Regions from separate parts of the Homo sapiens genome. Here region 2 is linked to region 1. Evidence: promoter capture Hi-C in human tissues and cell types (Jung and others, 2019). All regions are on one chromosome and are shown on one strand. The core of a region is centred on a gene start or on the middle of the fragment in contact, and the rest is flanking DNA. Distances in the headings are between cores, read along the strand shown. Region 1 holds the start of LRRC10B (leucine rich repeat containing 10B). Region 2 overlaps LOC101927495 (a long non-coding RNA gene).

The links. The method cuts DNA at HindIII sites, captures the fragments that hold promoters and counts their contacts. A contact is called where the count stands out against the background at its distance.
Region 2: a fragment that was not itself captured here is called in contact with the fragment with the promoter of LRRC10B in region 1 in 2 of the 25 tissues and cell types used here (H1 embryonic stem cells and mesenchymal stem cells).

What each region holds. Positions count from the first base shown.
Region 1 is chr11:61,505,499-61,509,998 of GRCh38, forward strand. It overlaps LRRC10B (leucine rich repeat containing 10B), which reads left to right and starts at 3,251. Exons shown (of 1, transcript NM_001145077.2): 1 at 3,251-4,500. The coding sequence starts at 3,501. The coding sequence ends at 4,379. MIR4488 (microRNA 4488) reads left to right here and starts at 3,098; the gene lies at 3,098-3,159. LOC105369329 (a long non-coding RNA gene) reads left to right here. Exons shown (of 3, transcript NR_188527.1): 3 at 264-1,151. The HindIII fragment of the contact is 12,437 bases long and covers 1-4,500 here.
Region 2 is chr11:61,597,828-61,602,168 of GRCh38, forward strand. All of the region lies in intron 2 of LOC101927495 (a long non-coding RNA gene), which reads left to right. Among named protein-coding and RNA genes, the nearest start is that of SYT7, 19 kb to the left of the region's middle. RefSeq lists enhancers at 1,532-2,199, 2,868-3,535. The HindIII fragment of the contact is 6,468 bases long and covers 1-4,341 here.

The sequences.
Region 1 (4,500 bases), core at 2,001-4,500:
CTGGGTACTGGGCATGGGGGTGTTTATCACAGCGCCACACTTTTCCTATATTTTAAGAAATCCTTTAAAAAATACAGAGTTGGGGGTGGGCACTAATAGTTATAGCTCATGATTAGTAACAGAGAGGCAGTTTCTGGGGCCCTGGGGGACCTGCACTTTGGGTGTTTTTGCAGTGTGTGTGGGGGCAGAGGGGCTGGCCAGGGTCTGGGACCCATGCCTGGAGCTGACAGAGTCCTCTCTCCTCCCCTGCTTCCCCCTCCCAGGTCTCAGTTTCCTGCCTTCCTGGGAAGTGGGGAAAGGCTGAGAGGCCCCGTGCTGGGGGTGAAGCTAATTCATTAGTTACGCCTCAACAAGGACCGGGTGCCTGCAGTGCCAGCGTGATTCATCATGATGATTGCCCCACTGCCAGCCTGCGTGGGCCTGGAACGCCAGCACATTTTACCTTTACCCACTGAGAAGGGCCTGGTGGGAGGTGAAGGTACAGGATCTGCCGAGAGCAAGAAAAAGACTCTGAGAAAGAAGAGGGCTGGTCCTCCATGCTCTCGGCCCCAGGAAGCTCTGCCAGGCTGGTGCCGGGGTGGAGAGGCTCATGTGGGCTCATGTGGTGCTGCCTGTGCTGATGGAGCCCAAGAGGGCAGCCTGGCGCTGGGTGCCAGCCTGAGCATGTGGCGAGGCTGGGCTGCTGAGCCTCCTCCTCCACAGCCAATGTTCCCTCAAACTGCTTGGGGGTGGGGGGAGGGACTCATCCTCATCCCATTAGCCTGGCTGGGTATTCCCTACCTTTCTGGTCTCTGAGAGACTTACCTCTTCCAAGAAGTCCTCCCGAATGAGTAGAAGGGAGAGAGCTGGATTGGAACTTAAGTGACATCTGGGAGGAGCCTGAAGCCCCTCCGGTTGGGGCTGAGACTCCTATACCCTAGGTCTGGTGTCTGGGTTCCACCTGGGTCCTCTACCTTGGCCTGGATTCCTGCTTTCGTTTTGCCAGTCTCTCCCAGGATGGGGGTGCATGGCTGGTTCGTGGCTCAGAGCAACATCTGCCTCTGTGTCCCCCCATCATCTGTCCGCCCCCTAACACCTCTTGCCATATTAGAATTGCTATTGCTCTGTCCTTTCATTCATGTATCCAACAAATATATATTATCTGAAAAAAAGCATGTGCTGAATAATTTCATTTGTGTGAAATTCAAGAACAGGGAAAACTGATCCATAAGGATAGAGGTCAGGATCATAGTTGCCTCTGTGAGGTGGGGATTGACCGCAAGAGGCTTGAGAGAACTCTTGGGTTGATGGAAATGGGACAGGGGTGTGTACATTTGTCAAAACGCATCCAAGAAGACACTTACGATCTATGCATTTCACTGTATGCAATGTTTGCCTCCACTTTTTTTGTTAAGTTTTTTTCAGCAAGGCGCAGTGGCTCATGCCTATAATTCCAGCACTTTGGGAGGCTGAGGCAGGTGGATCACCTGAGATCAGGAGTTCGAGACCAGCCTGACCAACATGGTGAACCCCTGTCTCTTCTAAAATACAAAAATTAGCTGGGCGTGGTGGTGGGCACCTGTAATCTCAGCTACTTGGGAGGCTGAGGCAAGAGAATCGCTTGAACCCAGGAGGCGAGGCGGAGGTTGCAGTGAGCCAAGATCACGCCATTGCACTCCAACCTATGCAACAAGAGCAAAACTCTGTCTCTAAATAAATAAATAAATAAATAAATAAATAAATAAATAAATAAAAATTTGCATGGAATGTCTACTGTATGCTCTAGAGCCTGTGCCAGCAGGGAAGGAGATGCCCAAACCTCCCTGGCTGGGCAGCTTACTTTCCAGTGGGGATGGTTCCCTTCCTCCCGTTGCATTGGCAACTGCTCTCTGCCCTTGGGCTGTCTTCCATCCCCCTTCCCCTGCAGTGGGGATGGCAATGGGGGTGGGCCAAAGGGCAGCGTGCTCTCCTGAAGTCAGTCCACTCAGCCAGTTACATGGGTCACACCAGCCGGGTTCAAGAGAAGGCAGGAGGCAGGAGGCTTGGAGCCCGAAAATTTGGCTCCCGGGCTGCAACCTCTATGCATTGTGTGACCGTAAGCAGGGTGCCTAATCCCCGCGAGGCCACTTCTCTCATCTTTCATGTGGGATTATAGTGCTGTCTTTGTAGCTTTGTCCAGAGAATCAGAGGCTCTGTTGTGAGAAAATTCATTGCTGGAGGTGGAGTGAACCTTGTTTCCATCTATCGGTATGGTTTATGGTTAGGAACACAGGCTCTGGAGTCACACTACCTGGCTTCGAATCCAGCTGCTCATCAGCTGGGTGACCTTGGGCACTTCACTCAGCTCAGACTGACCCAGCTCAAGTCATGTCTCTTTGACCCTCAGTTTCTCCATCTTTAAAATCGGGGTGATGAGGGTGTCTACCTCATAGGCTGTGCCAAGGACTCAACGCAATGCTTTCAGCATAGTGCTGGGCACACGTGGGCTCGAAGCCAGTGACAGCCAGTGCTTTTCTGCCAGGAGCTCCCGCAGGAGGGCTCCGGATGGGAGGTGGGGGGAGAAGGCAGGGGGGAACTGCTGCTGGTGGTAGCAGGCGAAGGAAGAAGAGTCATGGAATGAGAGTGGCCATGATTGGTGGCTCAAAGGCGTTCACGTGTCCCAGTCCTCTGTCCACCGCAGCCACACACAGACTTTGAGCGTCGGTGGAGGGATCCTGGCAGGAGAGAGGGGTGTGAGTGTAGCAATGAGGAAGCTGTAGGGCAATTAGGCGGGGCGGAGCCAAGCCCTGGGGCCCGGTAAAACCAGCAGATGTGAAAAGGGCCGGACAGTAACACTGTTTCGAGTTACTACACTGAAGTGATCCCAGCAGGTAGGCCGGCCGCACGCCGCTGGACGTGAATGGCTCGCAGTGACCGCGCCCCTCAGCCCCTCCTTGTGAGCCTCTAGTCCAGAGTCTTTGATCCACCGCCAGCGTTTCCTTCGCCTTCTTGGACCCGCGGCTCTGGGGCGCACACAACCGCACACCAAACAGCGTCGGGCGTCGGGTCTCAGTGCCAGGCTTGGCCGGGGCGGGGAATCTCTCGGCTTGTGCTTGCTCCGCGGTGGGCTGGATGGGCAGGTAGGGGGCGGGCTCCGGCGCTGGGACCCCACTAGGGTGGCGCCTTGGCCCCGCCCCGCCCCGCCCTCCCTCCGCCTCATTGGCAGCCGCACGCGCGTCGGGGTTGCCAGGGCGACGGGTCGCTAAGCTGCGAGTCAGCGCGAACCCTAGCCAGTCGGCCTCCGGCGGAGGCAACGGGGGAGGCCCGAGGGCGGGCGGTGGAGCGCGGCGCGCGGCGGCGGTGCCCCAAGTGGGTGCCTCCTCCCGGCCCCGCACGGCCCCCCTCCCGGCGCGGGGGAAGGCCGGGGCGGGGGGCCCGGGGGCCGGCGCGGCTCCGGCACCGTCGGGGCGGCTGGGGGGCGGCCGGGGCGGGGCGATGCCTGGCGGTGGCAGTGGCGGCGGCCCCGGCCGGGGCCCGTGACCATGGGCATCGCCGAGTCCACGCCGGATGAGCTGCCGTCGGACGCAGAGGAGCAGCTGCGCAGCGGCGACCAGCAGCTGGAGCTGAGCGGGCGGCGGTTGCGGCGGCTGCCCAGCGCAGTGTGCGCGCTGAGCCGCCTGCAGAAGCTGTATGTGAGCGGCACGGGGCTGCGCGAGCTGCCGGAGGAGATCGAGGAGCTGCGCGAGCTGCGCATCCTGGCGCTGGACTTCAACAAGCTCGAGCGACTGCCTGACGGCCTGTGCCGCCTGCCGCGCCTCACGCGCCTCTATCTGGGCGGCAACCGGCTGCTGGCGCTGCCCGCCGACTTCGCGCAGTTGCAGAGCCTGCGCTGCCTCTGGATCGAGGGCAACTTCTTGCGGCGCTTCCCGCGGCCGCTGCTGCGCCTGGTGGCGCTGCAGTCGCTCCAGATGGGCGACAACCGGCTGCGCGCGCTGCCGGCCGAGCTGCCGCGCATGACGGGCTTGCGCGGCCTCTGGCTCTACGGCAACCGCTTCGAGGAGTTCCCGCCCGCGCTGCTGCGCATGGGCCGCCTGCACATCCTCGACCTCGACCGCAACCGCCTGGGCGGCTTCCCCGACCTGCACCCGCTGCGCGCGCTGCGCGTCTTCTCCTACGACCACAACCCCGTCACCGGGCCCCCGCGCGTCGCGGACACCGTGTTCCTCGTGGGCGAGGGCGCCGTCGAGCGCATGGCGGAGCGCGACGAGCCCACGCCCCGGCCTCCGCCCCGGCGCCCAGCGCGGGCCTTTGAGGATGAGGAGGAGGAAGACCTGCTCATAGGCGGCGCTGGTTCCCGGGCTCTGGGCGCCCCCGGGGGCAGCTTCCGCGCCCTGGAAGCCGCTCCAGGACTGGGCACCTGAGCCTATGTTCTGGCTGATGGGCTTCAGCCACTCTGAGAGGAGGGGCTCTAGGAAGCTTTGGCTGGTTAGGCCTGCGGGACTGGTGGGTCCCTACTTAGGTCAATGGAACGGCTACTTTTGG
Region 2 (4,341 bases), core at 1,041-3,540, 91 kb after region 1:
GGAGCAGCCAGAGGATCACGACAGGTAGGGCTGGGGGTTGGCAAGGGCTCTGCAGAGACCACGCTCCCCTGGAAAGGCATTTCTCATCGTGGGCATGCCTGCCAGGTAGTGGGAGGACCATTTCTTTCTTTTCTTTTTTTGTCATCATCCAACGTGGCTGGGAGTGAGGGGGCTGAGGGAGAAAGTCTCCTGAGATGGGAGAGAAGCCAGGGGTCTGCGGCTGGCCTGGGCTCAGATTGGTGGGCAATAGCATTCAGTGTCTCCCCCACCCCACTTCCCCCTGCAGACCCAGGCCCAATCCGGGCTGCACCCCTAGCGAGGCAAGGGAAGGGCTGGGCCTTCTCTTCTCTCCTCCAGGTCTCTCGTAAGAATGACATAGGAGCATAAGTGCCCCACCCCATTTGACAGATGAGGCTGAGGCTCAGAGCAGAGAAGTGACGGGCAGGTTAGGTGCATGTGGTAAGTGACCAGCCATCTGGGAGTTATCGGGCCTCTTCCGGCAGGAATAGGGGTCTGGGAAGCCCACCCAGTGGGAGATAACTATCTGTCCTCCTTTCTTAGTGGGGTGGGGAAAAGGCAGTCAATAGAAGAAGAAAAGAGGCCAGCCTGACTCCTGCGAGTTCCCAGAATCTATGTGCTGTCTCCAGACTCCAGAACTCTGCCTGGGTGCTCCCACTTTCTGGAACTGCTTCCCCTATCTGGCTAACTCTTACTCGTTCTTCAAGTCTCAGTTTAGATGTTGCCTCTTCCAGGAAGCCTTCCCTTATTTCCCCAGGATTAGGTAGCACTGCTGTGTGCTCCCACTGCTCCCAGGGTTTCCCCCATTAGGGCATGAATCACCTGCTTTGTCGTATTTCTCCTCCTCAGACAGGGAGCTCTTTGAGGGTAAGGCTGTGCCTTGTCAGCCTCTAATATCTATCCCCAGACCCAGTGTGGAGCTGAATACAAAGCTGGCCCAAAGAGCTGTTTGTTGAATTGGTGAGTGACTGAATGGGCATCTATAAAGATCAACTATTTGTCAGTCCTGTGCAGGGGGGTCCAATGTAAAGGAGGCCCCCACCCCCCTGCAGTACCCACCTGTGCAATGGCCCAGGACGCCTTCTGGACAGAGCCTGGACAAGGCGAGGTGAGCTTAGAGAAGGGAAAGATAGCTTTGGAGTAGGGATACTGGGAAGCTCTGGGAAGAGGTCCAAGAGTCTTGGTATGACAAATTGTTTGGGGCAGGTTTAGGGCTGGGGGCTGGTTTAGTGACCTCAGAAGAGGCTGCTTTATCCAGAGCCCAGGACTGTGCCTAGGAATGGACCAGTGAGGGGGCCGGCTGAACAGGGAAGCTGAGTCACGTTCTGGAGAGCCATTTCCAGGTGAAACCAGAAAGGGCAAGCGTCATGCTCAAGGCAACACAAGTGGGCCACAGCTCCCAGCCAGGGCTCTGTGCCACCCATGCCCCGCTTCTGCCCCCTGGCAGCGCCCTGGCTCTGAGTGAACAAGCTGCCCCAGTCCCTGGGGATGCACGCAAACCAGGAGGAGGTGACAATAAGGGCTTATCAAATGGCTTGTAGGAGGCAGCCACAAATTTCAGCGGCTGTGTAATGTGGGTCTAATGTTCACTTAGCAGAGCGACAGCCTGAAAAGTCGGTGCCCGCGCTCTGTCCCTGCTGCGGCCGAGGCTGTTGAAGCCACAGAAAGCGAGTCACTCAGCAGACATCAAGCTCTGCGCTGGGGCTGGTGTAGGTGGGGTGTGGGGCTGTAAGAAGTCTGAGTTTCCAGACGCCAGACCATACTGGCGGCCCCAGCTGGCTGCTCCTGGGGGAGGAAAGGAAGCTACATTTTTGGTCTTGGAAAGGCCAAAAGCCCGGAGTCAGAGCTGCCCATCTACAGACGGGGAGGGGAGGAGGCGTAGCCCTGGGGAACCCACCGCTGAGTGACTTGTTTTCGCTTTCCTCACGAGCCTCTGCTGTTTCTCTGAGTGCCCTGGGATCCCTCCTCTGAGGGGCAGGAGGGGAGGGGTCCTGCCCTGAGCCAGCCCCCAACTACCTACCCTGGAAATGAGTCCCCACCTGGGCCACATGGGGAGGGACTGAGCTCAGGGCTTTACTGAAGGTCAAAGCCTCTCCTTTCTGAAGTCCAAAGAGGCATCCTCACCTCTGAGCCCACCCACAGGGCCTGGGGGTCTGCCTCTGCCCCGTCTTCCTGTGCGACTCCAGGCAACTCCTCAGCCCTTTCTGGGCCTCAGTTTCCCCATCTGTTAAGTGGCTGGAAAGGTCTCCAAGCTCGTCCTTCTTCAGAATCTTGTGAATGATGCATAAGGCAGCTGCCCACACCCTCCCTGGCCCTGCTCTGCTTTTCTGTCCTGCGCGGCATGGGGTCTTTGTTTTGTTCATGGCAGTACCTGCAGCCCTGGAGCAGTCCCTGTTGCATAGTAGGTGCTCAGTAAATACTGGTGGTTTTTAAACTCCCAGAAGCCACCCAACCTCCTCGCTGCAGGTCCCTTCCTCTTGGAAGGGTTTCTGATTCATCCCCTTCTCATTCTCCAGGTTCTGTTTTGTCCCCTCCTAGGCTGGGCTGCATTACAGACTCCTGTGCACGTGTTGGTATGCAAATCTGGAAGCCTCCCCCCTGTTTCTATTCCACCTTCTCCTTTCCATCGTGGGTGCGTGGGAGCCATGTCTTCTTTTAGATCCCCCTGGCGCGGCTAGGATGAGTGCCAGGGCCTTGGTGGTACAGCCAGTGCTCCATAGAGCTGTTTACAGCCTGCCAGTGATTCACCCACAACAACTGAGAGAAGGCTCTGCCCAGGCGGGGCCGAGGCCCAGGGGAAGCAAGGGAGACCATGTCTTCAAAGCCCACTGGGATCTGGAAATAGGGGCCTGAAAGACCTCTCAGAATAGCTTTGGCCTAGGAGAACAGGGATTGGGATGTGGGGGTCCAAGCTGGGCCAGGATTGAGAGAATTTGTTCTGGCTCAAGCCTACTGATTCATTCATGTCCAAGCCTTTTTCAGCATCTCTCCCTGGGCACCTTGGGCTGACAGCTGGGGGCTCTGCAATGAACCAACCTGAGTCTGGGGCTTCAGAAGCTTGTAGGGTGATGGAAAGGGGGCTGGGCATCATGAGCCACAATAGAGACAGCCACGGGTGACGTGCAGGTGCAGCCAAGGTTGTCATTCATTCAGTGGGCTGAGGCTTCATCGAGGAAGGGCTGTCCTAGCAGAAGAAACAGCACATGCCAGGACACAGAGGCCACGCCCAGCAGTGAGTGGTTGGATGCGAGGCCTGCCTTCCTGTTCTACATGGCTCTGGCCACCCCTCTGGTTTTTTTTATCTGTAAAAGTGGAGGTGGTAGCCAGGCATGGTGGCTTATGCCAGTAATCCCAGCACTTTGGGAGGCCGAGGCGGGTGGATCACCTGAGGTCGGGAGGCCGAGGCGGGCAGATCACCTGAGGTCAGGAGTTCGAGACCAGCCTGGCCAACATGGCAAAACCCCGTCTCTACTAAAAATACAAAAATTAGCCGGGAGTGGTGGCACATGCCCCTGTAATCCCAGTTACTCGGGAGGCTGAGGCAGCAGAATCGCTTGAACCCAGGAGGTGGAGGTTGCAGTGAGTCAAGATCACTCCACTGGACTCTAACCTGGGCAACAGAGCGAGACTCTGTCTCAAAAAAAAAAAAAATGATGGAGGTGGTGTTGCTTGAGTAGGGGGTTAGAGGTTGTCCTAAAAGTTTCCCATGGGCCTCTCCAGCTCTGACACGGGGATTCTGTGGGAGTGAGAGGAGGCGAGCTGCTGACAGGGCAGGGATCTGGGTGACAGTGAAGTCCTGGTGGCTGGGCAGGGAGGACAAACAGAGCTGTCTGTTTAGGCAAGGAGGGGAGCTGGGAGGAGGACACTGCCAGCCAGTTGGACTGTCTCTCCAGGCCTAGTGTTTGCCGATGGAATAAGGGAGTCAGGTGTGTCAACAGTGGGGAATGAGGTGGCTCTGCACTACACACACACGGGCTGTCCCTGGACTAGGCCATCAAGAGGGCCATGTAGGACACTGGCTGGTGGGAGCCCATGGAGCCCAGTGCACTTGCCCATTGGGTGCTCAGATGGCTCAGCCCAGGCCGCATCTCTCTCCAGGCCTCTTCCCCTGTCTCTCTGGCTCAGCTTGAGGAAAGGGGCAGGGGCGTGACCCATCCCACTCTGGGAGGGGAGAGAGCCTCCCACCTGCTCCTGACCTCTCCGGGCTTGCTCCCCTGGGGACATCCCACCACATGAGTTCTAGTCTTGACTCTGCCACCAACTTGATGAGTGACCCTGGGAGTCCCTTCCCTCTTTCAACTTCAATTTCATTACCTGAAAATG